Linked DNA regions of Homo sapiens: all the other regions are linked to region 2. The links are contacts of gene promoters, found by promoter capture Hi-C in blood cells and fetal thymus (Javierre and others, 2016). All regions are on one chromosome and are shown on one strand. Each heading gives the region's core, a stretch centred on a gene start or on the middle of the fragment in contact. The rest is flanking DNA. Distances are from core to core; before and after follow the strand shown. Region 1 overlaps PAOX (polyamine oxidase). Region 2 holds the start of LINC03068 (long intergenic non-protein coding RNA 3068). Region 3 has its middle 8.8 kb from the start of MIR202HG.

What was found. The method cuts DNA at HindIII sites, captures the fragments that hold promoters and counts their contacts. A CHiCAGO score of 5 or more calls a contact.
Region 1: a contact is called between a fragment that was not itself captured here and the fragment with the promoter of LINC03068 in region 2, in 1 of 17 cell types (naive CD8 T cells). The highest score is 6.4, in naive CD8 T cells.
Region 3: a fragment that was not itself captured here is called in contact with the fragment with the promoter of LINC03068 in region 2 in 1 of 17 cell types (neutrophils); the score reaches 7.0 in neutrophils.

What each region holds. Positions count from the first base shown.
Region 1 is chr10:133,387,364-133,390,063 of GRCh38, reverse strand. It overlaps PAOX (polyamine oxidase), which reads right to left. Exons shown (of 7, transcript NM_152911.4): 5 at 996-1,108; 6 at 317-474. Among named protein-coding and RNA genes, the nearest start is that of MTG1, 5.4 kb to the left of the region's middle. RefSeq lists silencers at 176-255, 845-1,139, 1,396-1,553 and an enhancer at 1,306-1,435. The HindIII fragment of the contact is 2,734 bases long and covers 1-2,630 here.
Region 2 is chr10:132,443,708-132,446,407 of GRCh38, reverse strand. It overlaps LINC03068 (long intergenic non-protein coding RNA 3068), which reads left to right and starts at 1,426. Exons shown (of 3, transcript NR_184030.1): 1 at 1,426-1,636. LINC02870 (long intergenic non-protein coding RNA 2870) reads right to left here and starts at 1,219. Exons shown (of 3, transcript NR_149317.1): 1 at 1,130-1,219; 2 at 629-712. RefSeq lists silencers at 2,480-2,529, 2,630-2,679. The HindIII fragment of the contact is 13,459 bases long and covers 1-2,700 here.
Region 3 is chr10:133,255,328-133,258,102 of GRCh38, reverse strand. No RefSeq gene overlaps it. Among named protein-coding and RNA genes, the nearest start is that of MIR202HG, 8.8 kb to the right of the region's middle. RefSeq lists an enhancer at 1-65. The HindIII fragment of the contact is 887 bases long and covers 965-1,851 here.

The sequences.
Region 1 (2,700 bases), core at 14-2,513, 940 kb before region 2:
TTTTAGAGATGCAGTAAACTTAGCGATGAGAATCAGCTGGGAGCACCGTCTGAGAAGGGCAAAAGGGGCTCCACCTGCCATTTTGGTTTTATTTTCTTTTGTTAGCACTGCAGAATTCTCTGACTTTTTAAGCTGTGTGTGTATAATTCTCACAAAAACAGTACATTTAAAAATTATTCTTAGTTTCAAAAAGAAAATGGCTTCCGAGTCTGGGATCCCAGCCCACCCGCCACTGGCTGGTGCTCCTGCAGCGCCCAGACTCGGCGGGGGCCTCTGCAGCGGGACCCACGCCCCCCGACTGGGGCACGCCACATACCTGGGCGCCGGCGCCGTCTGCAGGGAGGGGCTGAGCCAGCAGGTCCAGGTCGCCCCCAGTACTGCCCACGGCCACGTAGCTGTAGGACCCCCTAGTGTACGGGGCGCTGTGCCAGCGAGACCGCAGGACGCTCTTGGGCGCGGGGAGCCGTGGGTTTCCTGAGCCACAGAGACACTGCATGTTAACCGAGAACTCTCACCCACAGGTCTGCAACTGTTTTTGTCATTTTTAAAGATTGAGCAGTTTAACGTGAAAGATGCTATGCAGGAAGAAAAGTGAGCAGCAGAGTGTGTCAGGAGAGGCTCTTCCTGCCGCCTCTGACCCGAGAGCAGTGGGCTGGGACCCGGGGGCCTCTGACCCGACAGCAGCGGGCCGGGACCCGGGAGCTGTGACAGCAGCAGCTACTGTTTCCGAGCCTTGGGTTCCTCCTCTGTAAAAATCTGATCAAGGACAACGGCATTTATTTTGGTGGCAGAAGTAGGAAGTGTTTGCAAAGTCATTTCAGTTCCTCGGAGGTAAGAACTGTTACTGACCCCACTAACATGAGGAAGGATGGTCCCTGGAGATGTACAGAGTCAGCCAAATTTAGTTTTTCTCTGTTCTGCAAAGTCTAGTTTCTGTTTAGAGATCAACCAGTAACGAGCAGAGGCAGGAACCAGCGTGTGTGGTGAGTACCTACCTGTCACTCTCCGGAGCACTTGGGTGAGACACAGAAGTACTTCTTCATCCGACAGAGTCTCCATGAACTCAGACTCAAGTCCGGCAATGAACCCACAGAGAACGTGGACAGACCTGCATGGAGAAAGAGAGCCCTGGGATGACCAGACCTGCATGGAGAAAGAGAGCCCTGGGATGACCAGACCTGCATGGAGAAAGAGAGCCCTGGGATGACCAGACCTGCATGGAGAAAGAGAGCCCCGGGATGACAGTGTCCAGCCCAGCTCTCCGCCCGCGTTTCTCAGCAAGGAACCACTGATGGAGCAGGGGCCCCAGAGGCACAAAGAGCCACCCCACAGAGCGTCCCTCAGGCAGCAGTTCGCAGAGTGTGGGCGGCAAAGTCCTGGGGGTCCGAAGGCCCTGCCAGGGACCCTCAAGGTCACAGCCATCTTCAGACGCTAAGACAGCATTTGCTGTTTCCACCACGCCGACATTTGCACCTGAGCAAGAGCCAGGGCAGGTAAACCGTCCCTTAGCAGAATCAGGCAGCAACAGGATCCACATGCGCCTACAGGCGTTCCCACCACTGCACATGAGGGTTACAAAATGCTGCTTTTTGCAGCCGTCAAAGAACGAGATCATGTCCTTTGCAGGGACATGGATGGAGCTGGAGGCCATTATCCTTAGCAAACTAACACAGGAACAGAAAAGCAGACAGCACATGTTTTCCCTTTCAAGTGGGAGCTAAATGATGAGAACACACACTGGGGCCTATGGGAGAGTGGAGGATGGGAGGAGGGAGAGGAGCAGGAAAAATAACTAATGGGTACTAGGTTTAATTCCTGGGTGATAGAACTAATCTGTACAACAAGCCCCCATGATACACGGTTAGCTACATAACAAACCTGCACGTATATCCCTGCCTCTGAATATAAAAATTAAAATATATATATTAAAAAATAAATAAAAATGCTGCTTTCACTTGAGAATGTCCTTGATCAAAGGCAGTAAAAGTTACTAATTTTATTAAATCTTGATCCTCGAGTTCATGTCTTTTTAATAATCTGCGTGGAGGGCCAGGCACAGTGGCTCAGGCCTGTAATCCCAGCACTTTGGGAGGCCAAGGCGGGCGGATCACGAGGTCAGGAGTTCGAGACCAGCCTGGTCAATATGGTAAAGCCCTGTCTAATAAAAATACAAAAATTAGCCAGGCGTGGTGGCGGGCACCTGTAGTCCCAGCTACTCGGCAGGTTGAGGCAGGAGAATGGCATGAACCCGGGAGGTGGAGGTTGCGGTGAGCCAAGATCGCGCCACTGCTCTCCAGCCTGGGCGACAGAGTAAGACTCCATCTCAAAAAATAATAATAATCTGCGTGGAGAAGCGGGATCCGCATAGAACACTCCTGCTGCGCGTGGTGCACGGTGGCCGTGGAGGACTCACCTAGCACACGCTATTCCAGGCGGGGCTGGTGCGTCTTTCACAGACAGGCTCAGAACTCAGGAGAGCACCAGTCAGACAAATCATGGTGTGGTATTTGGTGACATTTTCTTGAAAATGAGCAAAGTGTCTCTATCACAGGAAAACAACTAACAAATAGTATTTATAGACAATGACAAAGTTTAAGCTCTCAAGCAAAAACTGCAATTTTAGAAAAGCTTGTTTCTGCCACCAACAGCATAACAGCTTCCCAATCCTGAAAGACTTTTCTGAGATCAGTGGTATGTTAA
Region 2 (2,700 bases), core at 177-2,676:
CTGCCCAGACGTCCCAGGTCCAGAGTGGAGGCTCAGCCTTGGGCCTCAGTCCGCTCCCGGCCCGGATGTGAGGGTGGGTCGCAGCTGCACGGCCTCGCTGCCCACCAGGCCTGCGGAAGGGAGGACACGCCCTCCCACAGACCCTGTGATGGCGGCTGCCATGGAAGGTGTCTAGGCCCTTTTGGGCATCCCCTGCCCCCGTCTAGGTCCCCAGGTACTTGCAGAAAAGAAGGGGTGAGCACAGCCTTCTGTAAGGGGGCGCCCGAGTCCTGGCCAAGGTGGCCGCCCACCCTGGGGCTCCACAGTCCAGGCAGCCACCTCTTCAGTCTCTCCCCTTAATGTGGGGCAGAGTGGATAGAGGGACTCCCTCCTCTGACCAGCCAGGCAGGCAGGGAAACCCGGGCACGGGAGCCCAGGGCTGGTGGCCATGCCCTGAGGGAACTGGCTGCACTTGCAGCCCAGGCCACAGGCCCCAGGACACCCCAGACCTCTTGGCAGGACCCCAGGGTTAAAAGGCAGTTTGTGGCGCCACTTCTCCCCTGATGATGGACACCTTGAAGGGGCTCTGGGCACCAGCGGAACAAACGTCATAGGGAAACTCAGCAGCTGACCTACCACCAGGACCCACCTGTCCTCTGCCCTCCCAGAATCCTGGTCATGCGTCCAGCAAGCTCCCAGGGAGGACACGCCAGGCACTGGGCCCATGGACACGCTGTAGAGAAACGCCGCAATCGTTAGGGGCATGTGACTAAGACGCCTCCTTCCCATAGGCACCCACGGGGTGCGGCTCTTTCCAAAACGCCACATTAAAACAGCTGCAGGAGGACCGAAGGGGCCTCGTGCCCATCCCCTGCTGCTACTCCCCAGCCCGCCCTCAGCCTCCTGCCGCTGGAGCTCTGCCCACCTGCACACCCCACTCTTCTTCATCCCCAGCCCCATAAGCGAGACTACCTTGAGGCCAGTAGGTGCTTCCTGAGAGTTTAGGAATAACAGGGGAACTACAGCAAATAGCAACAATTTTAAAAGCAAACAAGGCATCAGCCCTTGCCATCCTCAAGCCGTGACCACCCCTGCCCAGGACGGAGCTCCAGCGGCTGCACACTTCCCCCAGGGCTCGCCCTGCAGCTACCTCTCAGCTCCTGGGAGGAAACTCCACATTTCAGCTGCTTTATACCCAGAGAAGCCTCCTGCCTCCCTTCCCAGTCCTGGCAGATCCTGGGCCTCTCCTGCCTGCCTGGCCTCTTGGAAATAACTGGCTGAGCCTCTCTGTGTGTCTGGCACAGCATGGGGCCCAGAGGCCAGAGCCACCGGAGGTACCCTGCAGAGAGGGTAGGGTTGCAAAATCCTCCCCCCCACCCCCACAACTGCAGAACACACCCTGGGCCCAGCTGGGCTCTAGAGGTGCCCAGGAGAGGGAACTGAATTATTTCAGGAATTGGAGATGCCCCTGTGGCTGAGGAGGAGCTGGGGCTGGGGCCGGGGCCAGGGCCGGGGCTCTGACCTGCCACTCTGCCCCACATTAAGGGCAGAGACCGAAGAGGTGGCTGCCTGGACCTTGGAGCCCCAGGGTGGGCGGCCACCTTGGCCAGGACTCGGGCGCCCCCTTACAGAAGGCTGTGCTCACCCCTTCTTTTCTGCAAGTACCTGGGGACCTAGACGGGGGCAGGGGGCCTGGGGGTCTGGGCCTGGGGGCCAGACCCTCCATCATTTCCTAGGCTGGTGCTCAGAAATGGAGGAATCTCAGGACAGGTCCCTGTGGTCTACGGGGTGGCAGGCCTGAGGCTGGCCCTCTCTGCAGAGGACACCTTGGGGGCTGCTGATCAGCCTTGAGGCCAGAGATGGCTCTCACCTGCTTCCCCGTCACAGGACCAGCACTGTCAGCCTCACCTGGAGGCTTTCTGCAGGGCTGGTTCTCTTGTCCCATCAGTGTCTGTGTGGGGTCACCCTGTTCCCCTAGGAGGGTGGGTCTGCAGGGGGGAAGCCAGAGTGGCCCTTGGAGACCTCAGGACCCCAGAGGGAATGAGCAGGGAGCCTTGAGGGTCTGGAGGAGGAATTCAGAGAGGCAGGAAGCCGGGGAGCCCTGAGGAGAGGCGAGAGGGAGTGAGCGAGCGGGGGAGGGAGTGAGGGGGGAGGGAGCCCTGAGGAAGGGGAGGGGAGTGAGCGGGGAGGGAGTGAGGAGGGAGGGAGCCCTGAGGAGAGGGGAGGAGAGTGAGTGGGAGTGAGGGGGGGAGCCCTGAGGAGAGGGGAGGAGGAGTGGGGGGGTGGGGAGCCCTGAGGAAGGGGAGGGGAGTGAGCAGGGAGGGAGTGAGGCGGGGAGCCCTGAGGAAGGGGAGAGGGAGTGAGTGGGGAGGGAGTGAGGGGAGGGAGCCCTGAGGAAGGGGAGTGGGGGGAGGGGAAGGGTGAGGCAGGAAGCCAGGGAGCCCTGAGGAGAGGGGAGAGGAGTGAGGGGGAGGGGAAGGTGTGAGGGGAGTGGGGGTTGAGAGGAGAGGGAAGGAAGGGAAGGGGGAGGGGAGGGCGATGGGGGAGCCCCCACAGACACCCCAGCTGCTGGCTGGGCGCTGGGCACCCCCCAACCGTTGGGCCTTGCTCCCACTAGGGGCAGTCGTGTCCCAGCCCCACAGTCAGGTCTGAGTCAGGGACCCGTGGCGCCCGCCCTCCCTCAGCTGAGCTCACCAACAGCTGAGAAATATTCATTTAAAA
Region 3 (2,775 bases), core at 159-2,658, 810 kb before region 2:
TTGTCAGGGCGGGGCTGGCCCTTGGGAGGCACCACAACCCCTGTGCAGGGTACCCCAACCGGGGAGAAGCCACCAGGCCACGCTGGAGTGGGAGCCAGGACCTCAGCGCCAGGTCCCCACCGCGTCTGCCGTGCCCACCCCTAGAGGGTGCTGAATCCTGGCCCCTCCCAGCTCTGGGTGTGTGGTGGGGAGGAGCTGCTTCTCTCCGTCCTCACCCGGCCTTGCCCTCGGCCAGCAAAGACCGCAGAGGAGAGTGAGACCCTTGGGAGCTCCCTGGGCTCAGGGGTTCTGAGTGCCTGTGCTGGGACCTTGGACGGCCAAGACACCGCTTGACTTCCACCTTCTGTCCTCTGGCGCCCGCCTGCACCTGGTCCTCTGCCTGCCCACGCGGCCAGCTAGAAAGCGCGCGCCCTCCAGTGGGAAGGAGAGCAAGGAGTAAAACGTCCCGCCAGGGAGTGGGGAGTGTCAGGAAATTAGGAGGAAGTGTCGGGGCTGCGGCTTGCCGGGATGTAGGAGCACAGGCCCTGGGGCAGAGGAGGGGCGGGGGGAGCCGTGAGAGGCCCGGAGGGAGCAGGGGAGGTGGAGAGGAGCTTTCCCCAGTGGAGCTGGCAGGAAGAGTCCCAGGTGCAAGGAGCGCATTTTAGAATTCCAGGACTCGGGAGGAAACCTGCAGGATGAGGGCTCCCCTTGGGGGCGGCCTGCATTTCTCAGCGGGAAGGTGGGTGTGGGTGCCCCTCACATCACCTGGCGTTTATTTTTGCATGTGTGAAATATAACAACAATTTCCTAGGGGAAAACACCCTAGGGTGCACAAAAGTTGTAAAAATGGGAACATATGGTCCGAAACTCACTGCTGAATAATGTGCTGTCATGAAATTTACTTCAAAAACCCCCTCACGGAGTACAATCTTGGGTAGATGAAGGAGAAAAAAAGTAAAAATGAATTTAAAAATCTCTTAAAGCTTCTGTTTTTTGTTTTTTATTTTTGAGACAGATCTGGCTCTGCTGCCCAGGCCGGAGAACAGCTCACTGCAGCTGGAGCCGTTCTCCCACCTCAGCCTCCGGCACGTGCCACCACGCCCAGCTAATTCTTTTCTTTTCCTTTTTTTTTTTTTTTTTTTTTGAGACAGGGGTCTCACTCTGTTGCCCAGACTAGAGTGTAGTGGCACAATCTCAGCTCACTGCAACCTCCACCTCCTGGGTTGAAACGATTCTCCTGCCTCAGCCTCCCAAGTAGCTGAGATTACAGGCGCCCGCCACCACGCCCGGCTAATTTTTGTATTTTAGTAGAGACGGGGTTTCACCATATTGGCCAGGCTGCTCTCAAACTCCTGACCTCAGGTGATCCGCCCGCCTCTACCTCCCAAACTGTTGGGATTACAGGCGTCAGCCACTGCGCCTTGCGTAATTCTTTTCATTTTTTGTAGCAATGGGGGTCTCACTGTGTTGCCCAGGCTGGTCTTGAACTCCTGGGCTCAAGTGATCCTCCTGCCTCTGCTTCCCACAGTGCTGGGATTACAGGTGTGAGCCACTGCGCCTGGCCAGCTTCTTTAGATCAAGCTGTAAATAACTTCAAATAGTAAATTAGTAGAGCAGACACGACTGACTAAAATTATTAGCAATGAAAGCACAAAGGAGTAAGCAGGGGAGGCCACCCTGAGCACGTCTGGACGGCTCGCGTGGGGAGTCCACGCTCAGAGCACCCCACAGGTGTGCAGGAACCGGCATGATCCACAGTGATCGCCTTTGGTGGCAAAACTTATTTCTTTTCTGCAGTACTCACAATTCTCCATCATAACAATGTGTCGTTTTACAAGCAGGAATAAATGAAAACAATGGCTGTTCAAAGCTTGCTGGAGAGAGGCGGCGGCAAAGCTCTGCTGCTCCCCGTGTTTCTGGAATCTGTTGACAATTGTATCTGCGCTTCTCACAGATTCTGAGAAGGACACGTATGTTTAACAAATATATATAACTTCCTCAGAGAGCCACTGAAGGCCAGGTGCGGTGGCTCATGCCTGTAAACCCAGCACTTTGAGAGGCCGAGGTGGGCGGATCACCTGAGCTCAGGAGTTCACGACCAGCCTGGGCAACACAGCCAAATCCCGTCTCTACAAAAAATACAAAACTTGGCCCGGCATGGTGCCCGTAGTCCCCTCTACTTGGGAGGCTGAGGTGGGAGGATCGCTTGGGCCTGGGAGGTGGAGGCTGCAGTGAGTCGAGATTGCACCCCTGTACTCCAGCCTGGGCCACAGAGTGAGACCCTGAAATAAAGAAAAGCTGTGGACGTGGCTGAATCGTGTGCACCGCTGACCCCCAGCATGTGGGCCTCACCCACCATCCACGCGACGCCCTCGCCAGGAAAAACAGAGCCATGTGACCGGGGAGGGTTGATGGGGGTGTCCAGAGGCCAGAGTGCCCTGGCAGGGTGGCCCCCACCCCATCTGTCCCTGGAGGTCTTTGTCTCCTTCTGTGCTGAACTCCACCCTCCAACAGCTCCCCGTGGCTGCCCAAGCAGGGGTGGCGGGGTGTCAAGGAGGGTGGGCGGCGGGACCGCGGGGCAGAGGGGCTGTGCATCCTGGGTAATCCCACCCTCGCCCTGGGTGGCCACCAAGCGGTGCCGGCAGCTGGACCTGGGTGCGGAGTGTGGAGCCGAGTTCACCTGCCTTTTTGTGGCTCCCAGAGGAACACGCAGAGACCCAACTGAGGCCAGCCTAACTGGGGCTGCTGAGGGTCAGCCCCGGCATCGGCTCGGGGCACCAAGGACCCAAGGAGACT